3 separate regions of the Homo sapiens genome follow, and regions 1 and 3 are each linked to region 2. The links are contacts of gene promoters, found by promoter capture Hi-C in blood cells and fetal thymus (Javierre and others, 2016). All regions are on one chromosome and are shown on one strand. The core of a region is centred on a gene start or on the middle of the fragment in contact, and the rest is flanking DNA. Distances in the headings are between cores, read along the strand shown.

Evidence for each region. Contacts are between HindIII fragments. The CHiCAGO score rates a contact against its expected background, and 5 or more counts as called.
Region 1: a contact is called between the fragment with the promoter of REG4 here and a fragment that was not itself captured in region 2, in 1 of 17 cell types (M0 macrophages). The highest score is 5.7, in M0 macrophages.
Region 3: a contact is called between the fragment with the promoter of ADAM30 here and a fragment that was not itself captured in region 2, in 1 of 17 cell types (M2 macrophages). The highest score is 5.7, in M2 macrophages.

What each region holds. Positions count from the first base shown.
Region 1 is chr1:119,809,491-119,812,770 of GRCh38, reverse strand. REG4 (regenerating family member 4) reads left to right here and starts at 1,311. Exons shown (of 6, transcript NM_032044.4): 1 at 1,311-1,362. The HindIII fragment of the contact is 5,277 bases long and covers 1-2,271 here.
Region 2 is chr1:119,547,018-119,550,709 of GRCh38, reverse strand. No RefSeq gene overlaps it. Among named protein-coding and RNA genes, the nearest start is that of HSD3B1, 42 kb to the right of the region's middle. RefSeq lists an enhancer at 730-1,024. The HindIII fragment of the contact is 5,511 bases long and covers 1-3,692 here.
Region 3 is chr1:119,895,264-119,898,936 of GRCh38, reverse strand. ADAM30 (ADAM metallopeptidase domain 30) reads left to right here and starts at 2,422. Exons shown (of 1, transcript NM_021794.4): 1 at 2,422-3,673. The coding sequence starts at 2,601. The HindIII fragment of the contact is 9,342 bases long and covers 748-3,673 here.

The DNA.
Region 1 (3,280 bases), core at 62-2,561, 260 kb before region 2:
AATTGAAAGGCTTGGAGTTAACATCTTTGTACGCCATTGTGCCATGAAGCAATGATGATTCCCATCCAGCTGCCTAAAGAGAAAGAGGTTTGTGTCAAACATTCTGATGGGAGAGATTCTTTAAAATGTTCTTTGTGAACCATGAAAGCATTACTTTCTCATGTCCTACCATGAATTTACACAACTGATGCAAAAATCTAATAACAAAGGTTGAGTAGCATTTTCCAAACAACAGTGAGCTGGGAGCAAGGAAGCTGGCTTCTGATATCAGCTTCACCCACAACTGTCTGTGCATTAAACTAGTCACAATGTTTCTCTAGGCCTCAATTTCCTCACCAGTAGAACAAAAGAGTAAGATTTGATAACTACTATGGTCCCTTCCAGACTTAAAGTTTCCAGACATAAAGGTCCTTTACAGACTTAAATCTGTAGTTTAAAGTTGAGTCATCTCTGGCACCTACAACCTAACCCTTTGCCATCTATACTGGAAAAGAAAATCTTGTTACTCTTTTCAAATAGCCTATTTTTCAGTAGAACTGTATTTTGGCAAACACCTATATTTGGAGTCAGAAGGACAAGGTTCAGTGTCCAGGTCCACTGCTGACCAGTGTTGTGAACCTCGGAAGGTTTCTAATCTCTCTTAAGGTTGGGTTTCTTGAGTGTGTAATGGGGATATGTGTCCTATGCTGCTCACAAGGATTTTGTTGGCATCTTATTTGATGACTTCACTGAAAACCCGTTATTGTAACACACTCTGTTGATGTAAGCTATTTTGACATGATCATCCATGTTCTGCGGGAGAAGCTCAAATAGTAGATCTCTGAGGAAACTCACGCATGTTGAAGGAGTGGAGTCGGTGCTTTAGGAAGGAAAATCTGTGTGTGGGTCTCAAGTCTCACCGCATGGGTCATAACCTATTCCTGACCCTGACAGAAAATCCTTCTAGAAATAAAAGAGAAATAAAGGAAATCCACCATACCAAGGCATAAAAAGACAGCCATGAAAAAGTAACATAAGGGGAGAGGAAGATGGGCTTATAACAGATTACAGGATGTTGTCAGTTTTAATAACGTGATGTGAAGAAAAGATTCTGTTTGCACACAGGGAGAGGTTCTTTTCCTGGCTAGTCAAAGCACACCTTACGTACATTCTGAAGCCGTCTCTTATATGATTCATTTTTTTCACTGTAGATAAGACTTTTATGGATGGATTGTTTTTCTCAAATAATATTATCGCTTTGTGACTAAAGTAAAGATTATTAATTCCTGAGGCAAGAAGATATAAAAGCTCCAGAAACGTTGACTGGGACCACTGGAGACACTGAAGAAGGCAGGGGCCCTTAGAGTCTTGGTTGCCAAACAGGTAATCCTCCTCGCGGTTGATGATGGGGGACTTTCTTTAAACATCTGTTTTCCTCTGTCAGCTATTAGCCAGGCCAGAAATGACAAATTGTATTTCTAGTGAGGCTTGTCAGGCTTTCTGTTGCTGTGTTGTTTGATTTAAATTATTTACCTTCTTTTCTTCCTTCACTGCAAAGAGCATTGGCTTTGGTGTCAAGCTGTTGGGTTAAATCTTGGCTCTGCAGTCTGGTAGCTGGGAAACTTTAGAAAAGTTACTCAATCATAAGTGTCAGTGTCTTCATTTGTAACATGCATTCATGAGATCTACAGTGCAGGTTTTTTGTTTTTGTTTCTGTTTTTGTTTTTGTTTTTGTTTTTTTATGGAGTCTTGCTCTGTCTCCCAGGCTGGAGAGCAATGGTGCAATCTTGGCTCACTGCAACTTCTGCCTCCCAGGTTCAAGTGATTCTCCTGCCTCAGCCTCCTGAGTAGCTGTGATTACAGGCACTTGCCACCACGCCCAGCTAATTTTTGTATTTTTTAATAGAGACAGGGTTGTGCCATGTTGGCCAGGCTGGTCTTGAACTCCTGACCTCAGGTGATCCACCTGCCTCAGCCTCTCAAAGTGCTGGGATTTCAGCCATGAGCCACCACACCCGGCCCAGTGCAGCTTACTTATGAACATGACATGCAGACATTCAATGAATATCAGTTCACTAAAAATTATTCACAGATTAGTAAAAAAGATGCTGCCTCTCCCTTCCCCCAGATGGTCACCTTGACAGAGAAATTCTGTTTGCGTTTTAAAGGGGTTTGAGGACATTGAAAATACACTATTACTTTTGGAAGGAAAGTTTAGCAAAGTGCAAGGTTCACGCAATGATTTAAAAAGAAGTAAGGGGTGGGGAAGGTCACATCCACACTCTCCAAGCTTTGTCTCATTCTCAGTTAATGTTGCCTTAAAGTGTTCAGATGGACCCCAGAATTGATTTTCCAGAAAAGTCATCATTTACATTATTCTCTTTAAGCAATCCATTATTTGAGAGTTAGATTGTATATTCAGATTTTTTAATCATAAAGTATGATTAAATGTGAATTCAATGAATTAACTCATTTTAAGAATTATTTGGGAGGGAAATCCAGAACTCAGTTTCATACTTATGTTAAAACAAAGCCCAGACAGATGAAAATAGAACAGTGATAAATATTTTAACCTTATGTGACAGTAATGGCCAGTCTTTTGATATAAATTTAAAAATTATTTTTAAAAACATAAAAAATAACAATATTTTTGAAAATTTCAGAATGGCAAAAATTATAATAAGTAAGAGAAAAATACAAACTGAGAAATACTATTAGTAACACGTGAAAGGCAATAAACATACAAAAAAGATCTCACAAATAAACATACAAAAAAGATCTCACAAACAATGAAATAGAAAAATGTGCAAAACTGTAAAATGAAAATTCACCAAATACTAAAAGCAAATCATTATATAAAAAGATGTTCAACTTCATTAGTAATTATAAAATATTTTAAAACACTAAGGTTCTTCTTTAATATACCAAAATTAGCCAAAAACTTGACAAAATTAAGCATTCTCTGGGAGCTTAGGGAACCAATCCTTTTAGTGCCCTATTAATGAGGTAAATATCACAGCCCATACATTTTAACAAAGGGTATTAAAATGACAATGTGCATGTTGTGTGATGCCACAACCCTATATATGAGAATTTATACTAAAGAAAAAATAAAAAATGCATGAAAGTTATGTGAGTGCAAGACAATGTATTACAATTAATCTGTTTCTGAGAAACAAAACCAGGCTATAGGACTATATGATCTTATTTTTATAAAATTGTACACAGAGAGAGGTGCATAGAAAGATATCTGTAGGCTACTCACCAAATTATCTCCTGGAGATGGGATTTACTTCTTATT
Region 2 (3,692 bases), core at 687-3,186:
GAGTGTGAGATTCTCTTCTGAATTTAATTTTTAAAACAAATTTTCTTTTTCTTATAGTATAAAAATGCTCTGGGCCTTGTGCCATTTCAGGTTTTGGATTTAATTCCCAGTCCCTTTATAACCTTGGCAGCTGGGCTTCACTTTCATCAGCCTTTCCATTTCCCTGCTTGTAGGCCTCTCACAACCCCACTCACTCTTCATATCACACAAATGAGTTCATTCTCAGCTCCATACACTCCGTGCGCCTTCTCTTTCTCCTGGATCTCTTTATGATGATCTAGCTTCTTCAGGTTCATGGACACCTTGAAAAGTCATCTGTGAATTCTTTCTTACTTTGTCATTCAAAGCATTCTGCTCCCTGACTGTCTATCCCTTCCTCTCTCCATTCTAACAGATGAGTTTACTTGTGTTTCATCCTTCCATCCATCCATCCCTCCATCAGCCCATGTGTCTATTTTGTGTCAGTCACTGGGGACAGAGAGATGACATGGTGAGTTACTGTCCTCAAGACACGGCAGTGTAGGGGTGCGGAACAGGATATATAAATGAAAAATCAGTGAGAGTGCAACTCGATATGCACAAGACACAGAGGCTGTAAAATGAGACATATTGGATAGTAAATAAGGAGCTGGGAAGGATGTGCTGGCAGGAGAGCTGGGCACCCTTTAAGCGGAAGGAACACCATGCACCGGCCTGGGTGGATATAAAAGCATGCTGCATGCAGGAAGCGCTGAGTTTGGAAAATTGTTGAGGCACAAAGTAGGAGAATCTGGGGACAGGGCAGGGATTGGTGAGAATTAGTCTGGAGTGTCAGGCAGGGCCCAGGGCTTCAGAGGCCCTCTATGTTCTGCTAAGGCTCTCAGGCTCGTCCTGACAGTCCTGGGGCTCCCCCTATTGGTTGGTTTTAAGGAAGGGAGTGACATGGTGAGACTAGTTTGGAGAGAACTCTGGCAACACTGCTGAGGATAGGTTTCATGGGTGATTCTCCAAGACAAGGAGGCCTGTTGGGGGTACGAGTAGGAATGATGTTACCAGGGAGGAAGACGACATATTCAAGAGGTGTTGTGGAGGTAAAGTTCGTAGCACTGAATGATAGGTGGGCGGAGTGGGGGGCTGCCATCCAGGTTTCTGGCTTGAGAAAGTGTGTGCTTGGGAATTCTGTGCCCACACCCAGTCCTGTCTAAACTAGCGGCCATTCTGTCTCAGGCCTGCCGCAGTTGCCCCTGTAGTCTGTTTTGTTACCAACACATAAATCAGGCCTTCATTTCTTACCTAAATTCTTCAAGTATCCTCTTCATCTCTTTCAGTCCATCCTACAACATGCTGCCAAGGTAATCTTCCAGGGACAGCTGAACAATGCCCATTGCAGAGTGAATGATGTCCCAGCTTTTAGCATCACCATCAATATTCATTGCTAAAGGAGACATTCGTTTCCTGTAGAGTCCAATTTTTGAGAGAAGATGAGCCATGTTATATGTGAAGTAATTGAATGTCAAGTCTTCTTTAAGGGGGTGTGGGGCACAGAATTCCTACTCTGAGGGCAATGAAGGAAGCAGGCACGGTGTCTCCAGGGATGACCCCAGGTGATCCTGCCTGTGCCCATCATTTTTTTCAGGTGTATCTTCCATGTCTCCCCTGGCCTTGGGCTTTCTGGTCTGGTCTCATTGCTGCTTAAAATGGACCCCTTTCTCACCTGGGTCTTTGCAGACTGCATTGCCTCTGCCTGGAATAATTTCACTCACATTCCTGTCTGTTGAAATCCTACCCATCTTTTGATATCCAGCCAAAATGCAAGGACCCCATGAGTCCCCTGTGGGAATGGATCCTTCAGAAGCATTTTCCTTTCTATGGCACTCTGCATATTTACTATGCACAGCACCTAACATGTCTTGTATTTTATCTCCCCCACTGGACCACTAGATTGGGAGCAGAAATGGAAAATCAGAGCTCTTAATCCTGGGTCCAGCCTGTGAATGTGTTTTGTTAGTTTGCATGTTTTTTCCCCACCAAATTTAATTTATTAAAAAATTATAACCTATGTTAAATATACAGAAAAGGTGACAATACGATATAATAATGTATATTTGGGACTTTTCACCAAGAATGAACAGATTTGCTGCTGACATCTCACCACCTACTTTTTAAGAAATAAAATATTACACATACATTTTGAATACTAGCCCACGCATTCCTCTCTTGGAGCAGGTCTTTGAGCTGTTTTTTAAAATTTAGAGTTAGTTGCTAATATTTAGAAATCAAGAGATTTCACATAAAAGTTGGCCTCTGGCTACTTTCCTGCCAGTTCTCAGCAGGCCATCACGGGTTCCCAGCCCCATCCTGGCCCTCAGAGCCTGGCTCTCAGGTGGTGGAAACTTTTGTCAAGTACCTGAGCTCCTCATCTGCCCTCCATACATGCTTCCCAGCAGACGGGAGGCCTCCTTATGCCCCTCGTCTTCCTCTGCACCACTGCCCATGCTGTGCCCCCTGTCTGGACCCAGGAATTCAAGGCCTCATTTAAGTCCCGCTGGTTCCTGTGGCTTTTCCCAGTGACCAGCTCAGCTCCATTGTCTGTATTCATATACACCTAGCCCTTAAGCCGGTGGCTGAGAACTTACCTGTGTTTTCATTCATTCCCTTGCCAGGTACCCTGCAGAGCCACCTAGATGGAGGAAAGGGACCCAAAAATCCCCACTGGGTCAGGCTTCCTTGCTCTTCCCTCCGAGACTTGCTGCCTCCGTGTGGTGCATGGCGTGAGGTTCAGCGAGGCTTGCTTGGTGCAGGAGCTCTGCCTGCCTGGCACCCACAGTTGTAAGAAGGGATGGCACATTTTGTTGGCCACAACACTCCGAGGCCTTTGTGCTTGTCCAGTTGAGACTGCTGGCCCATCCAATTTCTTCCTCTCTTTCTGTGATCACCCCTCACTGCCCATTGGAGGTATAATCTTTCCCATCACTTCTCTGTGAACATTGCCCTCATTGGTCAATAGGAGTGGGGTTTCACTAGGCTGAAAAACCAGGGGGAAAGGCTCTTGTCCCAGATTCCACCACCCTCCTATCCTTCCCATGCTATTTGTCATAAACATATGGATGGTGGGCATGCCTTACAAGAGCTGGAGAGGTGCTGGCTCTTGCATTTTGTTCAGTGGATGGGGCAAGAGGGGTGTTCCATTTTTCACTTTACCCCACTGCCTAGGGCCATTCCACCCTGATGCTGGTGCTGATCACCTGTCCCTTGGTGCTTTGAGGTTAATCATCTGTAAATTTTCTGTGTAAGAAAGAAGCCATCTTGATGTTGAGTGTGACCCTCATCATGGCTGTGATATACCCAGGTCCAGAGGGAGACAGCTTCCCTTCCCACACTCTGGACCCACAGCAACCTCCTCACCCGCTTCAGTTCAACTCTGTCCCTAATGCCCCTGAAAGTGTTTCTTTTGACCGTTGCTTCTTTGGTTGATTAATGACTATGTCATCACTGAAGTCCCCAAACTTGTCTTTATTGGCCTCCTCTCCTCAGGGAAATTGAGAAGAATGCGAGGGCCAGTGATAAAAGGGGAGATGTAGGGAAGGAGAAGCTAAGGAGTTGGAAGAATAAAGGAAGAAAGGATATGATTTAATGGAAAGATGGATAAAAAAGGAGGGAGAGGCAGTTATATCTGGGGATGTGGGATAGTAGACTTCTACTTTTTGAGCTGA
Region 3 (3,673 bases), core at 1,173-3,672, 350 kb before region 2:
CAAATTGCCCTCCCCAATTTAGGCTGCTGGGTGTTGCTTGAGAAAATCAAATTAATTTACAGATAGGAAACTGCAATTTCTGGTTTCCAACCTGAATTAGGCCCTCAACACACTTGGTGATACTTTTATTTTTCCCTTGTCCTCTGTCTCCTGAGCTCTCTTCTTCATCTCTTTCAGCTCTATCACCCCTACACTCCCAGCAGCTGACGTCACAGAGAAAGCTGAAGCCTTCTGACTAGCTCTCCCTTATTTTCTCACTGCACTCATAGCTTCACTGCCTGCTACCCTGCTGTCTGCTCCACCCCTGCCTCCTGCTCTGATGCCCCCAAGGAGGATCACGCTGCATCATCACCCAACCTCTCCTGGAGGCTGAGCAAGGCTCCAGCAGGGACTCTTTCCTCTAACAAGTCCTCTTTCTACCACATGGTTCCCAAGCTACTTTCTTACCTTTTCTCTCTCCTTCACCCAATTTCTTGAAAGTGCAGTCTAGGTTTGTGATCTCCTCTTTCTAACCTCCAATTTACGTTCCAACCTCCTGGTATGTGGCTTTGCTCATCAGCAGTGCCCCGAAACAGTTTGCACTAAAGTTTCTATAACCTCCTTTGTGCTCATTGCAGTGTTTCTGGAACTCTGCTCAGCATTTCACCTTTTGGTCATAACATCGTTCATGAAGTGCTTCTGCAATCACCTGTTACCCTGCCTTTCTTTTTATATCAATATCCACTACTTCACAGGTCATTGCAAGCTTCTTTCCTTCAGCCTGACCTTAAATCCTACTATTCCTGAGCGATCCAACCTGGTCTTTCTCTGCTCATTCCTCACCATCCCATGAGGCATCATCATCAGCTTTTATGGCTTCAATCAGCACCACTGTGCAGAGGACTCCAGTTCAGCTCCAACTCAGGCATCTCAGCCCAGAGGATGCTGCCTACTCGTCTGCAGTTGAGAAATCCCTTCTTCAATGCTCCTTTACTGGCACCTGGAAATCTACATTTTGCAAGCAGAGCTTTTCATATTTATTTCCTTTATCTAAATCTATTTGTTCTGATGTTTTTCTTCTTTGAGTGGTTAGAACCATGACACACACATACACCTAAGCCAGAAACATCAACATTCTTTTTCATTTTTGCCTCTTTCATTCTGGGAGAATCCATGCAAGCATTAAGTCCAGCAGAGTCTAAGTGGTTTTAAATCTCTTGGAGCTGTCAACTTTTGTCCTTCCCTAAAGAGACAACAGAGTTGACTAGTAAAGAACACAGGCTCCGGGTAGAGTTGCCTAAATGTTCACAGGGATTGCTTCAGCTGACGCCACCTTCTGAACCATGGTACGGTTTTCATGTCCTCATGTGCAAAGTATGGGTGATAATAGTAGTACCTATAACCTAGGGTCATGGTGAAGATTTAATGGGCTGATTTATGCAGAGCATAGCGGGGTGTGTAGCATGAAACGAGCCAGTCTTCCATAAGTACTGCTTATTATCAGCCCTAAGGCCATGCTTTCTGCCAACAGACAACATTGCTTGGTACAAGAGCTTTTAACTAGTCTCCCTGACTCAAGCCTGTTCCTTTTTAACCTTTCCTTGTAATTCAGCCAGATGGAATCTCCCAGGAACAAAACTGAAAATATTCCTCTCTTATCAGAATCCCTCAGAATCACCTCATGACCTTCCGATTTGCCCTTTTACGGACGATAAACCCTTCCATTTTCTGAGCCAGAGGCTTCTTCCTTTGTGGAGTCAGCCTCATCGCTCGACTAGGAACATAACCAGCTATCTACCTTTCTCAGAAAGCACTTGGGTTTGCTCTTATAACAGGCACTTTTTCTAGGTTCTTCCCACCATTGCACATGGACACACAAAAATTACACTGACCCCTGGCACCCCAAAGACAAACAGCAGAAAGCACTCCCAGGCAAAATGAGCTCAGGACCTTTCTGTTGCCTGGGCCCACAACTAAGGTTCAGGGCCTTCTCTAAAAAGAAGCCGCAGCCGAAGACAGAGGAACTGCCCAGAGTGGGGCTGGGGGTGTGGAGTCTACGCTGATACTTTCAGGCTGTTTCCACTCTTGCTGGTTCTGATGCTCCTTTCTTTTGCCACAAGCAACCCTAGTGGAAAACTGGGAAATGTCCAACAATGAAGTTAGGACAGTGGCCCATAAAACATCGGATTCCAACCTGTGTCCTAAGGTGTAAAGACACAGAGTAAAGGCAAAGATACAGTGAGCCTTTAACACGTTCTCCTTTGTTCTTCCTATTTCTCTATTCCTTCTCCATTTCCGATGGTGTTCTCTACCCTCTCTCCAACCCACGTGCCAACAGCCCCTCTTTTCTCTTTTATTCTCGCCCACGTTTCCCTCCTTTCTTCCACCTGCGCCCAACGGTACGGCCCGGAAAACGAACTGGATGCGTTGGACAGGTCACGCGCGCATTGCGGACGCCAGCTAGACCGAGCCCTGGGAGGCTACGGGCTCCCCCGGAAACCCTGCCAGGGGAGCCGGGTTTTGAGCTCAGGCGCCTCTAGCGGCGGCCCCCAGAAATCTGACTCGCGAGGCCAGAGTTGCAGGGACTGAATAGCAAACTGAGGCTGAGTAGGGAACAGACCATGAGGTCAGTGCAGATCTTCCTCTCCCAATGCCGTTTGCTCCTTCTACTAGTTCCGACAATGCTCCTTAAGTCTCTTGGCGAAGATGTAATTTTTCACCCTGAAGGGGAGTTTGACTCGTATGAAGTCACCATTCCTGAGAAGCTGAGCTTCCGGGGAGAGGTGCAGGGTGTGGTCAGTCCCGTGTCCTACCTACTGCAGTTAAAAGGCAAGAAGCACGTCCTCCATTTGTGGCCCAAGAGACTTCTGTTGCCCCGACATCTGCGCGTTTTCTCCTTCACAGAACATGGGGAACTGCTGGAGGATCATCCTTACATACCAAAGGACTGCAACTACATGGGCTCCGTGAAAGAGTCTCTGGACTCTAAAGCTACTATAAGCACATGCATGGGGGGTCTCCGAGGTGTATTTAACATTGATGCCAAACATTACCAAATTGAGCCCCTCAAGGCCTCTCCCAGTTTTGAACATGTCGTCTATCTCCTGAAGAAAGAGCAGTTTGGGAATCAGGTTTGTGGCTTAAGTGATGATGAAATAGAATGGCAGATGGCCCCTTATGAGAATAAGGCGAGGCTAAGGGACTTTCCTGGATCCTATAAACACCCAAAGTACTTGGAATTGATCCTACTCTTTGATCAAAGTAGGTATAGGTTTGTGAACAACAATCTTTCTCAAGTCATACATGATGCCATTCTTTTGACTGGGATTATGGACACCTACTTTCAAGATGTTCGTATGAGGATACACTTAAAGGCTCTTGAAGTATGGACAGATTTTAACAAAATACGCGTTGGATATCCAGAGTTAGCTGAAGTTTTAGGCAGATTTGTAATATATAAAAAAAGTGTATTAAATGCTCGCCTGTCATCAGATTGGGCACATTTATATCTTCAAAGAAAATATAATGATGCTCTTGCATGGTCGTTTGGAAAAGTGTGTTCTCTAGAATATGCTGGATCAGTGAGTACTTTACTAGATACAAATATCCTTGCCCCTGCTACCTGGTCTGCTCATGAGCTGGGTCATGCTGTAGGAATGTCACATGATGAACAATACTGCCAATGTAGGGGTAG